Regions from separate parts of the Homo sapiens genome. Here region 2 is linked to region 1. Evidence: promoter capture Hi-C in human tissues and cell types (Jung and others, 2019). All regions are on one chromosome and are shown on one strand. The core of a region is centred on a gene start or on the middle of the fragment in contact, and the rest is flanking DNA. Distances in the headings are between cores, read along the strand shown.

Region 1 (6,165 bases), core at 1,959-4,458:
AACAGTGAAGCCAAAGCCACTCTTCTCAATAATTGTTTCCGAAATAAAATTTCAGGAGTGACGTGACGCGCTGCCCGCGGTCTGGCCGTGAGCGCCCTCGCTCCTTCCTCTTTGACTCCATCTTCGCGGGGGCGGCAGCCGGAACCGCGGTTCAGTCACCAACATGCAGTTCTTGGTCCGCGCCCCGGAGCTACACGCCCTCCAGGTGACCGGCCAGGAGACGGTCTCCCAGGTCGCGGCTCAGGCAGCGCCACTGGAGGGCTTCGCCCCGGAAGATCTATCGTGCTCCTGGCAGGCGCGTCCCTGCAGGGCGAGGCCACCCTGGACCAGGGCGAAGTGGGAGGCCCCGACTGCCCGGGAGGCCAAGTCCGTGGTTCCCCGGCCCGCGCTGGGAAAGTGACAGGTCAGACTCTTGCTAAGGTGGCCAAGCGAGAAGACAGGCCGGGCTGAGCCGCGGGTGCGGTACCACCGGCGCTTTGTCGACGTTGTGCCCATCTTTGGCAAGAAGAAGGGCCCCAATGTCCTTCTTAAGTCCTTTGTAATTCTGGCTTTCTCTATTAAAAAAGCCACTTAGCTCGAAAACTTTTTTCTCAGAAAAATGTTTTTGTTTTTATTATTTTATTAACTTATTTATTTATTTTTGAGACCGAATCTCTGTCGCCCAGGCTGGAGCACAGTGGCACGATCTCAGCTCACTGCAACCTCCGCCTCCCGGGTTCAACCGACTCTCCTGCCTCAGCCTCCCGAGTAGCTGGGACTACAGGCGCGTGAAACCACACCCAGCTAATTTTTTGTATTTTTAGTAGAGACGGGGTTTCACCGTGTTGGCCACACTGATCTGGAACTCCTGACCTCAGGTTATCTGCCCGCCTCAGCCTCAGTGCTGGGATTACAGGTGTGACCCACCGTGCCTGGCTTGTTTTTATTATTTTAAATGAATAACTATAAAATGCAGTTTTAAATTTCTAATACAGTAAACATAGATATTAACGCTCATAAACAAAAGCTTATTGGGATCTTCGTCAATAATGAGTGCAAAGGAGTACTGATTCCAAAAAGTTGAGAATCTTGGCCTGAAAAGGCATATTCCCCACAAATAGGACTGTGAATGAATGCATCCATAATTTTGATATGTTTTGTCAGTTTCCCAAGCACAAAAGTTGTACAATTTTGCACTCCAAGCAACAAATTAAAAAGATGTTAAACTTTTGGATCATTGCCCACTGGCTGGGTGAGAAATAGTGTATTCATATATTTTCAACTTCCATCTGTTATATTATTAATATGTCTAAGCCTTTTATTTTCATATGCTAAAAAACCATTTTCACTTCTTTTGCTGTGAAGTCTATGTTCAAGCCTCTCTCTCAGTTTATTCCATCAGGTTTGGCCTTTTTGGAGGGAGGGGTCAATTTTAAGAGAGAGCTATAGATCCAAGTTCCTGTAAATTGTGTGAGTTGCAAATACTTTCTCCCTCCTTCCTTGTTTTTGATGCTCTCATCCTTTCTTCTGCTTAGGTCTTTGAAATCCCTGCTGGTTTCCCGTGTCTTAGGTCCCTGAACATGTCCGAGATGACTCCACTGAGTCACCAAAACAAAGAAATTCACCAACTCAAATTTTTCCTTGAGCTCTCAGCAGCAGTTAACATAGCTGACCACACCCTTCTTCCTAGAATGTTTTCTTCTCTCATCTGTCTGCAGCTGACATTCCTCTAACTTGTCTGGTCTTGTTCTCCGTGGCCTTTTCTGGTCCCACATCCTCTGAACCTCTCAATCTTGGGGTGCTTCAAGGTTGAGTTCTGGTCTCCCAGTCCTGGTCTCTCCCTAGGTAATCTTACTCGTTTCTGAAGATTTAAGTTCCATTCTCCGATTTCAATCTCCTGCCCAATTCCCAACATTTTTGCAATAGAATGTCTAAGGAGCACTCAAAATTAACATATCTAAAGCCGCTCAGGATCTCAACCCAGTGGCTCTCTTCCCCCAAACTCATTCCTTTAGAGCCACAGTTTAAGCCTTCCTTTCACCAATTCAACTATTGTTTTCCAAATTTATATTCTGTCCTGCCCTCCTCGTCCATCTCCAGCTCCTCTCTGCTCAACCACCAGAATACTATTTTAAAACCAAAACCAAGTGAGCAGGTTTGTGGTCACTTTCTATGGCATTAGAGTAAGATCGAAGTGGGTAATAACCCCGTCCTATACAATCTGGCCTCCTGCCTTCTTCTGATCTCTCTATAGCTTTCCCCCATCACTGTCAATCTAGCTGCCTCTAATTCATCACAGCCCTTCCCCCTTCCGTGGCCAACAGAGCTCTTCTCTCATATTTTTGCAATTCCAGCTGCCTCTTCTTTCTTCTCTTCAGTTCTCAGCTCAAATGTCTTCCCAAGAGAGACCTTTCCATCACTACTCAATTTGAAATACCTTCCCACTACTCATCTCCTTATTTTATTTTCTTAGTAGCGAAAAGATTTTATCTTTCTATGAACAAGTTTACTTGTGGGTCACTCTCCATCCATAAGAAACTAAGTCCTTGAGATGCCCTGTGTCTACATCTGACATACTCGATGCACAATAAATATTGTAAACGATATTTTATGTTAAACCAGTAAAAATTGAAGGTGTAATGAGAGAGGGACAGAGACTAAATATTTTTACAGAAACAGCAAAGGAAAATTGACGAATTAAGTCCCCAGCATGTTGTCTACCCTTATTTTGTTTTTCCTAATATTTTTCTTCAGGCTTTTTCCTGATAACACACAGATACACACACACACACATAGATTCTAAGATCAAGTTTAGAAATCTAAAGAAACAATTATTAAGAAAATGATCTATAGAGAAAATCTCACTTACTTTCTTTGTAGCAATCCTGGGTATTTCCTTTTTTTTTTTTTTTTTTTTTTTTGAGACAGGGTCTTGCTCTGTCACCCAGGCTGGAATGCAGTGGCGCAATCTCGGCTCACTACAGCCTCGAGCTCCCAGGCTCAAGTGATTCTCCCACCTTGACCTCCTGAGTAGCTGGGATTACAGGCGCTGCACGACCACACCCGGCTAATTTTTGTATTTTTTGTAGAGACGGGGTTTCAGTATTTTTCCCAGGCTGGTCTTGAACTCCTGGGCTCAAGCAATCTGCCTGCTTCAGCCTCCCAAAGTACTGGGATTACAGGAATGAGTCACCACACCGAACCAAGGTATTTCCTTTAGGGAAAAAGCTGGAACAGTGGAGACTGAAGAGATTTTATCTGTTCAATTCCTCCCTCAGCCCCGCCCTCACACCATCAGGAAGGCGTCTGTGAAGTTTCTTATCATATTCACACAATTAATCTCATTAGAACCACCTGAGTTTATTAAAACGCAAGCCTCTTCACAGGGTCTCTGATTCCAGAAATCTACGGTGGGGTCCGTAATTTACATTTTTAATGGACTCCCAGAAAATGCTTAATAGCCCTGACCTTGGTTGGATAAATATCTTGTTTTATCTCCAGTGCCATGTACAGTGCCTAACACCTCTAGCTCCTTAAGGTTTGGGGTTTTCTTTCTTAATGAATCTAGTGTATATTGACAATTTCACAGGAAAGAAGCCTTCGAGCTAACACTCAAGACTGTGTTTGTTCCTTAGTAGAAAATAATGCCTGACTTGTTAGTTTCTAGAACGTTTGCTGGAGAAGTGTTCATTCCAGTATCTGTGGAAAGAAAAACCAAGAGTAGGGATAACTGCCTATGGAATCTGTCACAGATGGGAGGTCAGGGAACAATCCCAGATAATTCATACTTGATATTTGGCTTCAGTGAGGAGGAACTCTTCACAGCTTTCTAAGTTTTATAGTTTTGTCCCCGAGGGTTTTTATTGCATCAGTCAGTCAATCCCCTGCTAATCAAACCAGGGAGTTTTTTTCTTTATGCTGCTGACAGGATAATGAGAATTCTTCTGCTTTGCTTATCTGATCTTTCAGAACCTGGTTCTACCTTATGGAATCTCAATACACCGTTTCTCTTTTTCTTTTTTCTTTCTTTTTTTTTTTTTTTAGATGAGAGTCTCACTCTGTTGCCTAGGCTGGAGTGCGGTGGAGCGATCTCGGCTCACTGCAGCCTCCGCCTCCCAGGTTCAAGCAATTTTCCCACTTCAGCCTCCCGAGTAGCTGGGATTATAGGCGCCCACCACACCCAGCTAATTTTTGTATTTTTAGTGGAGATGGGGTTTCACCATGTTGGCCAGGCTGGTCTCAAACTCCTGACCTCAGGTGACCCACCCTCCTTGGCCTCCAAAAGTTCTGGCCACCGCGCCTGGCCATACACCCTTTCTCTTATCTCAGATGATTACCTACACCCACTCTCTTTTCCAAAACCCAATTCCCCAGCTTTCTTCAAATAGACCACATTTATTCCTGTGCCCCCTCCCCTCCTCAGCCAGTCCATCCTCCTTTACTTCTCTTATTTTTCTAATCCAATCTTCCTTTCTCTTCTAAGCCTGGGTACGGCCAACGTCTGTGAAGATACTCACACATACTTGTTGTCAGATACTCTGTCATTTACTCTCACCATCCCTTGAGCTTTCATAACTCTTGAGCTTACTCATCTTGACAAGAAAACTTTGTAATCTTTGAATCAAATGGAAAATAAACATCAAGCATATTGTCAGGTTTTGAAGTCTCTTAAAGCCTGTTTTAGAGTATTAAATGCTTAAATAAATACTTATTAAAGCCTGTTTTACTATTAAATAAATATTTATTAATAATTAAATTATTAATTCTAGAAGAGTCAATATTTTAAGATAATTCTAAAAACATTACAAAAAAGTGTGCTAAACCCTTATTTACTGTTACATGCCCCACCTGTTGCATGCTCCAACCCCGTGAGGTACATCTGCAGCTGATGAAGTAGATGACGTAGAGATTAAGTCACGGGATTAAGTAATTGACCAAGAGCACTGGGTGCAGAAAATTGAAGATATGGAATTTGAATCGGGTGCCAAATTTCATGATATTTCCTTATTATAATTATTTGTCCTTATTAAATATTAATCAAATGGCTTGACAATTTACAAAAAAGATGCCTCAAATTTGTATGACAATTTATCACGAGATGCTTTCATAGGGCTAGAGTAATCACATTACAAGGAACACAGATCATTTTAAGGTAGTTAGATTTTTCATAGGAAAACTTTTCATTAAAATGAAAATCCTGAAGAAATGTAGTTTTTTTTCACTGTCAAAGAACAAATACAATTATGAATGAGTGAGTCATTGTTCTCCTGAGTCATTTCATGAACTTATAACAGTCGTATCCCAGCCGGGCACTCTGGCTCATGCCTGTATCCCCAGCACTTTGGGTGACCGAGGCGGGTGGATCACTTGAGGTCAGGAGTTCGAGACCAGCCTGGCCAACATGGGAAACCTCATCTCTACTAAAAATACAAAAATTAGCCGGAAATTGCTTGAACCCAGGAGGCGGAAGCTGTAGTGAGCCAAGATCGTGCCACTGCACTCCAGCCTGGGCAACAGAGCAAGACTCGGTCTCAAAAAACCAGGACAAAACAAAAACAGTCCTGTCCCCTTTGTTAGCCACATCACCTTCACCACTCGCCCCAGGCTGGCATACTCTCGGCTTCTGGGTGGGATGAGTATGGCTGGTGCCAAACAAGGCTGTATTTGTTACTTTGGACCAAATCTGCGGCAGGAGACTACCACCTCCTCCCATTCCAGAAAAGAACAGCTGGAGGCGGGGGTGTGCTGGTTGTGGTCCCAGTGTTATCACTCATCTGGAAGGTGTGGCTTCTCTCTGGCTCCTTTTCTCCAAGGCTGCTCCATTAGAAGCAGGGGCTTGGCTCTCACTGGTTTACTTCCCACAGCTCTAAGAGGTCCAGAAGTCATGTTCAACTGCTTCTTCCTTGCTTAAGAAAGCATTAAAACTTAAGAATCAGGCCAGGCGCAGTGGCTCACGCCTGTAATCCCAGCACTTTGAGAAGCCGAGGCAGGCGGATCACCTGAGTTCCGGAGTTCGAGACCAGCCTGATCAACATGGAGAAACCCCGTCTCTACTAAAAATACAAAATTAGCCGGGCGTGGGCGCATGCCCAGCTACTCAGGAGGCTGAGGCAGGAGAATCACTTGAACCCAGGAGGTGGAGGTTGCAGTGAGCCGAGATCGCGCCACTGCACTCCAGCCTGGGCA
Region 2 (6,414 bases), core at 1,609-4,108, 1.4 Mb before region 1:
AGATTAATGAGTGTTCATATTTAGCTCTGTTTCCATGAGAAAGCCTGTGGAAAAACATTTTTAAAAGCACCTATAGTAGCTAATCCAGAAAATAAATCAAATTAGTCACTGTCGAGGGCTTGTATTATAGTCTAAAATAAGAGAAACTTTTTGATGAGTGGCTAGCTTGGGGGTAGAACTTTGTGGTGTATTTTACGGCACAAAGTTTACTATTATTTCAAAGTTAGTTTAGCTTCTACCCTAGGATAATATTTTGCAAATAGCACCAAGCTGGACGTCCTGAGACCCGGGTTTTGATTTTAGACCTCCCGCTGATAAGCTGTGTGACTTTCTTCAAGTTACTCTCTCTGGGGGTTAATTTTCTCATTTCTAAACAGAAGGAGGACTAGATATTTGAGGTTCTTCCAGCTCTAATATCCTATTTGTCTATGAATAAAAATGTATTTACTCATTTGCACGCAGTATTTCATTTACACCTACAGACTCAGGCATGAAATGAGGTGCTCGGGTCAGGCCGGGAGTGACTTAGCGGACTGGAGGCAGCTGCTTCGATGTGCCTGACCGACCAAGTAGGAGTGTCCTAGAACTATTCATTTACACCTTTGCATGCACTGTTTCATTTACACCTAACAACAACATGATGATATAAGAAACTTTATTATTCACACTTGGCAGACACAGAAACTGAGAATTAGGAAGAAGGGGTAATCTGACAAAGAGATTCTCAATAGATGTTGAAAAATGAAAGTTTAGGTGTGGCCCAATTTTGATTCTCCATGGAAATATCCAGCCATGGACTTTTCACATGTGCTGTAGAGTTTGTTAGTAGTTGAGGCCCAAAGATTTTGAAGTCTTTTAAAACTCTGAAACATTAGGAAAGTTTGGTTTCTCTAAATGTTATGAAAATTTTGCATCTCAATACAAGCCATTTATAACAGATAAGAACATTTCTACAAAACAGATTCTTTCCAGCTGGATTCGTGTATGTATGCATGTAAGTCCGTCTCCTAAAATTTCAAGGGCAGTAATGAATCAATAGTATGTCTTAAATCTGAGATGTCTGATAAAACACAGAAAGATATATACATTCTAAAATATCAAGTTGATTAACAAATATTTAGTGAGCATACCACTATGGACTTTTTTGTTCCAAATGAATTTGAGTCTTTAATGTGGTTCAAGAGCTACCTGGATGGGATCAGAATCAGTTCCCATCTATGTGCCCCAGGACAGAGCCTGATCCCTACCTGATTTCCAAGGCCATGGCCCTATTAGACCACACACAATGCAGATTCTGTAATTAGTATCTTGGCATTTATGAGAAAGTTCACAATGTCAAACTGTATGTGGGGCATGACACAGAATCTTAACAGGTACTTGGTGAGTAAACATTGAATGAAAGCTAACATGAAAATATTCTCCTTTTGAAAAAACATAGACAAGTTTAAGGCCATTTCAGCAAGCGAGATTTCAGGTGGCAATAAATGATGTTAATTATAAGGGCAAAAATACATGGTTGTTCATGGTTTTTCTCGTGCCCAACCAGTCCTGCGCTTTCTTAAGATTAAATTTTCAATTTCCTCGTGACAAAGAAAGTACTGATACTAGTTTTTTACTTTATACTTTTTTTTTTTTTTTTTTTTTTTGAGACGGAGTTTCGCTGTTTTCACCGAGGCTGGAGTACAATGGTGCGATCTCGACTCACTGCAACCTCCACCTCCTGGGTTCAAGAGATTCTCCTGCCTCAGCCCCCCGAGTAGCTGGGATTACAGGCACCATGTCCAGCTAATTTTTGTATTTTCAGTAGAGAAAGGGTTTCATCATGCTGGCCAGGCTGGTCTCGAACTCCTGACTTCAGGTGATCCACCCGCCTTGGTCTCCCAAAGTGCAGAGATTACAGGCATGAGCCACCGCGCCCAGCCTACTTTATACTTTTAAAAGCACTTTGATTATATCTCATTGGATTCGTGTATGTTTTTCTTTTTGTACAGAAAAACTGGAATGGATTTTTTATATAAGTTATTGAAAGACATTTTCATGTAAACATTGACTTAAATTTTATGTGGAGATGAACAACTCGTTTTGTTTTTGTTTTCCTTTTTGTTTCTGCAATAGTATCTTCTGGCTAAAAAGAATAGTTGCTTTTACAAGTAACAAAAGAAATGAAAGTATACTTTGGAGGCAGCTGTCACTTACACATTTTTTGAGGAGTCCAGGTTGTTGGCTAAAAAGATATTTTTTGGGGAAAACTACTTTTACACAAATGCTGCCTATTTAGGTCTAAATGCTGTGATGAAATGGAGAACTTTGAGAACTAAAAGACATGCCACCCTGTTTTAAGTTGTATGACCAGGAAAATAAGCCTTTACCAAACTGTTTTTCTGATTCACAGTGCATTTTAATAAGCATAATTCAGTTGTCCAGTTCTCAGCAGCACCAAAGAGACAGCAACACTGTAGGTGGCTGATTAATATTTTATGTTTATCTTTAGTAACTAACCATGTCAATATGTGAGGATGTTCTGAAAGAAAAAACATATTCAAAACAGACTTCCTTTGCTATGCAATTTCTTTGGGGTATTTTATTTTTAAGAGTGTTTATGTTAAAGCTTTTAAAATGTTGTACAATGTATCCAAATAGTAGTAGTAACTCACATTTAATAAACTTTATATAAAAGTGTAAGGATGGAAAATTACTGGCTCAACAACTGTTTAGGGAAAGTTTCTTTCCTATTATCACCTGCTATATTGCAAATATCTTTTTGAGTATTATTTAAATTTTTTAACCTTAATATACTTTTGAATAAACTAGCTGAGTCCAGGTCATTGCCTTTTACATTTCTCAGAGTTTTTCCAGATTTTCCTTTATGTTGGCAATAATCATGTTATTTTCTTTCTTTTGTAGTATCATGTACCACTAATATATATTTTCCCAACTCCTCACAAAGAGCTAGGTGTATCAAAGCTTCATTTTTCTGGTCATACATATTATTTAGTAGAAGGTTTTATCTTTCTTAAAGGAAGGAATGTCAGTCAAAATCATCATGTAGATGATTCTCACGAACTCATTAAAGAGAGAGACCATATTTTATAAATATTTATAAAATATTTAAGACATTTAACAACTGATAAGGCTCAGGCACCAACCAAGCAGAACAGACACTGGCCATAAAGCTGAACAAAGTGTGCAGGCTCACTCAGGGGCATACAAGAACACGTCAGTGGCTCGTATGGAGAAAGTGGGAGGGGCGGAACCCAGGGAGAGGCCACGGCGGGGTGGGGACACTGGCAGGGACCCCATAATCATGACTGGATTCCTGCGTTTCTTAAACGTGGTGCTACTGACATTTTGGGGAGCGTTATCGCTCTTTGCTGTTGGGGGCTGCTGTCCTGATGTAGGATGTTTAGGAATCTCTCTGGCTTCTACCCACTAGTTGCCATTTTCACTTCCCCCTCAGTTATGACAACCAAAAAATGTCACCAGATATTTTCAAATGTCTCCTGGGAAGTAAAATCACCCTAGTTGAGAACCACTGTGATATACCCTCTGGGGCAGCAATATTTCCATATTCTAACAGCCGTTACATTCCTACCATCACCAACAGGGTCTTGAACTGTTGCCTGCTTTACAGAGCTTAGTAAAGATTTGTCAAATAAATGAATGATTCTTGTAGTCAGTCAACATACTGGGAATAACCTTTTAGGAAAGGTTGACTCATAAATTATCTCTTGTACTTGGAGTGTGGGTACATCTCGATTTATGACTACGCAGGTGTTTGGTGAGAGACCCTTCAACCTATTGACCACAAAGCTTGACACCCTGGGAGCCTCTGAAGCATGAAGCCTAGAGCTCATTGCTTGCAGCTCGTCTCACTTTGTACATGCTCCTTAGTTCAATCCATCTACTCTCATGGTTTTTACTTGTATGCAGATAAATTCTATCCTTGTATCTCTATCCCTCAACCCCTGTCTGAACTTAAGCTGCAGATCTACTGGCCCTGTGTATATATTTACCTTACACACAACATGCAGAGAACTGAACTCAGCTTTGGTCTGCCTCCACTGCCATAGGGCAAGCTTCACTTCCTGTCTTGTCTAACTGAATTAGATAATTATTACCTCATCCTTGGTGGTAATCTGGGTAACTCTTTGTCCTGCAACTCCTACATGCGCATAATAGTCACAAAGTCCAGTGAACTTAACCACCAATAGTTTGGATTTCTTTCCCTCTTCCTTGCTTTCTGTTCCCTGGACTAATTCTAGGCTCCTGACTGGTCTTCCATAGTGTGTTCTGTCTCAAATCCAAACCTCACATGCTTCCACCATCATCTATCAAAACAGCAACACCATATTGAAATGCTTCTGTTTTCCAAGGGGTAAAATCTACATTCCTTGGCGCGCCTTTCTAGGTCCTCCACAACCTGGCCTCTGCTCAGTGGAGGAGCCTCCACACTGGCATTTCATGCTCCGGCAATTTTTTTTTTTCTAATTAAAGTTCTGGGATACATGTGCAGAATGTGCAGCTTTGTTACGTAGGTATACATGTGCCATGGTGGTTTGCTGCACCCATCAACCTGTCATCTACATTAGGTATTTCTCCTAATGCTCTCCCTCCCCTCTCTACCCTCCAACAGGCCCTGGTGTGTGATCTTCCCCTCCCTGTGTCCATGTGTTCTCATCGTTCAACTCCCACTTATAAGTGAGAACATGCGGTGTTTGGTTTTCTGTCCCTGTGTTTGCTGAGGATGATGGTTTCCAGCTTCATCCATGTCCCTGCAAATGATATGAACTCATCTTTTTTATGGCTGCATAGTATTCCATGGTATATATGTGGCACATTTTCTTTGTGCAGTCTATCATTGATGGGCATTTGGGTTGGTTCCAAGTCTTTGCTATTGTGGATAGTGCATGCTTCAGCAATTCCGAACAGCTATTAATACGCTGTTACCATCGACCTGCTCCTCTGACCTGGAACACCCTCTTCACCCTGTGTCATCTAATCAACTCCTCATCCTTCCATGCAGGTGACACCTCTTCTGGGAAGCTTTGTCTGCCTTGTTTATCCTGGGTCCAGGAGTGCTCTCATTGGTGGCACTCTGGGCCTTCCTTGAGGAAGCATTATCACCCTAGGGTGAATGATCTGTTTAACTGTTATGTGGTTTGTCTCCAGGGCAGAGATTATGTCCTATTCATCTTTATATCCTTAATTCCAGCCATAGTTGCTCAGTAGATGATGCTGATGTGATCTCAATTTTGGGGTAAAATTAGATGTATATACAGACACAGAAAAAATGACTGGAAGGATACCCAGGTAACATGACTGGATAGTTACAACGTTTTACTGGAACTTTCTCCCACTTTGGCCACAAAAAGTATCAGTGTGAGGTTTACTCACATTACTATATTACATAAGGAAATAAAGCTGCTTTTCAAATTTTGGGGTAGGCTGGAAAGGAGTGGGGTCATGGGGGAGAAGGAAAGCACAAAGACCATGAGTTTTGCTAATTGTAAGACATTAATCCAGGACTCTCCAAACCTACAGCCCAATTTCTACTGAGAATTTTTTTTTTTTTTTTGTAGAGATAGAGTCTATGTTGCCCAGGCTGGTCTTGCATTCCTGGCCTCAAGCAATCCTCCAGCCTTGGCCTCCCAAAGTCCTTACAGTTGTGAGCCACTGTGCCTGGTCCTACTGAGAACATTTTGAAAAGCAGAATTGAAATCCAATTATAACAGCTCCTCTTACTTCCTTTGTAAATTACGAACATGCCCATCCCTCTTTCCTCACCACTTCATCACCACCATGTCCCCTCCTCTCTGCAAAACTTATTGAAATAACAATTACATTTTGTAATTTTCCTTTCCTGTTGCTTTCAGGACTCAAGCTCTGTTGAGGACATGAGGCCAGCAGATGGGCATAGTTTTAAAGAAGTTATAGTATTCGAATTGAAATTCCCTACTCTGTTAATTACGGCCCTGAAGACTTTTTGTCACAAATGCAAAATTTCACAACCACCTGACATTAAGAATGTTGATACTCAGGCCCTCGTGCAGCTGCTTGCTCATGAGGCCAACAGATGGGCATACTATTTAAAAAAAAAAAAAAAAAAGGGCTGCAATGCCGAGGTTGGAATTCTCAAATCCAGGCACTGAGGCTCTTAAAGCTCAGTGCACGGTCAGGAGTTGCACTGCCTCATGGTCCTTTGGGACCCTTCCTGCCCGCCCCGCTCTGCACCTGGAGCCACTGGGCGAAGCGTGTTAAAAAGCCACAGCTGACTTAATTCATGTGTTATGGGAGACATTCCTGGGGTTGGCTTATTACCGTGATCCTAACCCTCTCCTGGTGCGATTCGAAAAGAACACTTAGGAAGGGGAACAAAGACAGTAAGACAATAGTGTGGAAAAACACATAATAATC

What was found. Contacts are between HindIII fragments. The study calls those that stand out against the background at their distance.
Region 2: a fragment that was not itself captured here is called in contact with the fragment with the promoter of TRIML2 in region 1 in 1 of the 25 tissues and cell types used here (dorsolateral prefrontal cortex).

Annotation. Positions count from the first base shown.
Region 1 is chr4:188,106,395-188,112,559 of GRCh38, forward strand. TRIML2 (tripartite motif family like 2) reads right to left here and starts at 3,209. Exons shown (of 8, transcript NM_173553.4): 1 at 2,849-3,209. It also overlaps the pseudogene FAUP3. RefSeq lists enhancers at 166-683, 1,203-1,721, 1,722-2,240, 5,873-6,165. The HindIII fragment of the contact is 13,208 bases long and covers 1-6,165 here.
Region 2 is chr4:186,751,941-186,758,354 of GRCh38, forward strand. No RefSeq gene overlaps it. Among named protein-coding and RNA genes, the nearest start is that of FAT1, 31 kb to the left of the region's middle. The HindIII fragment of the contact is 3,401 bases long and covers 1,159-4,559 here.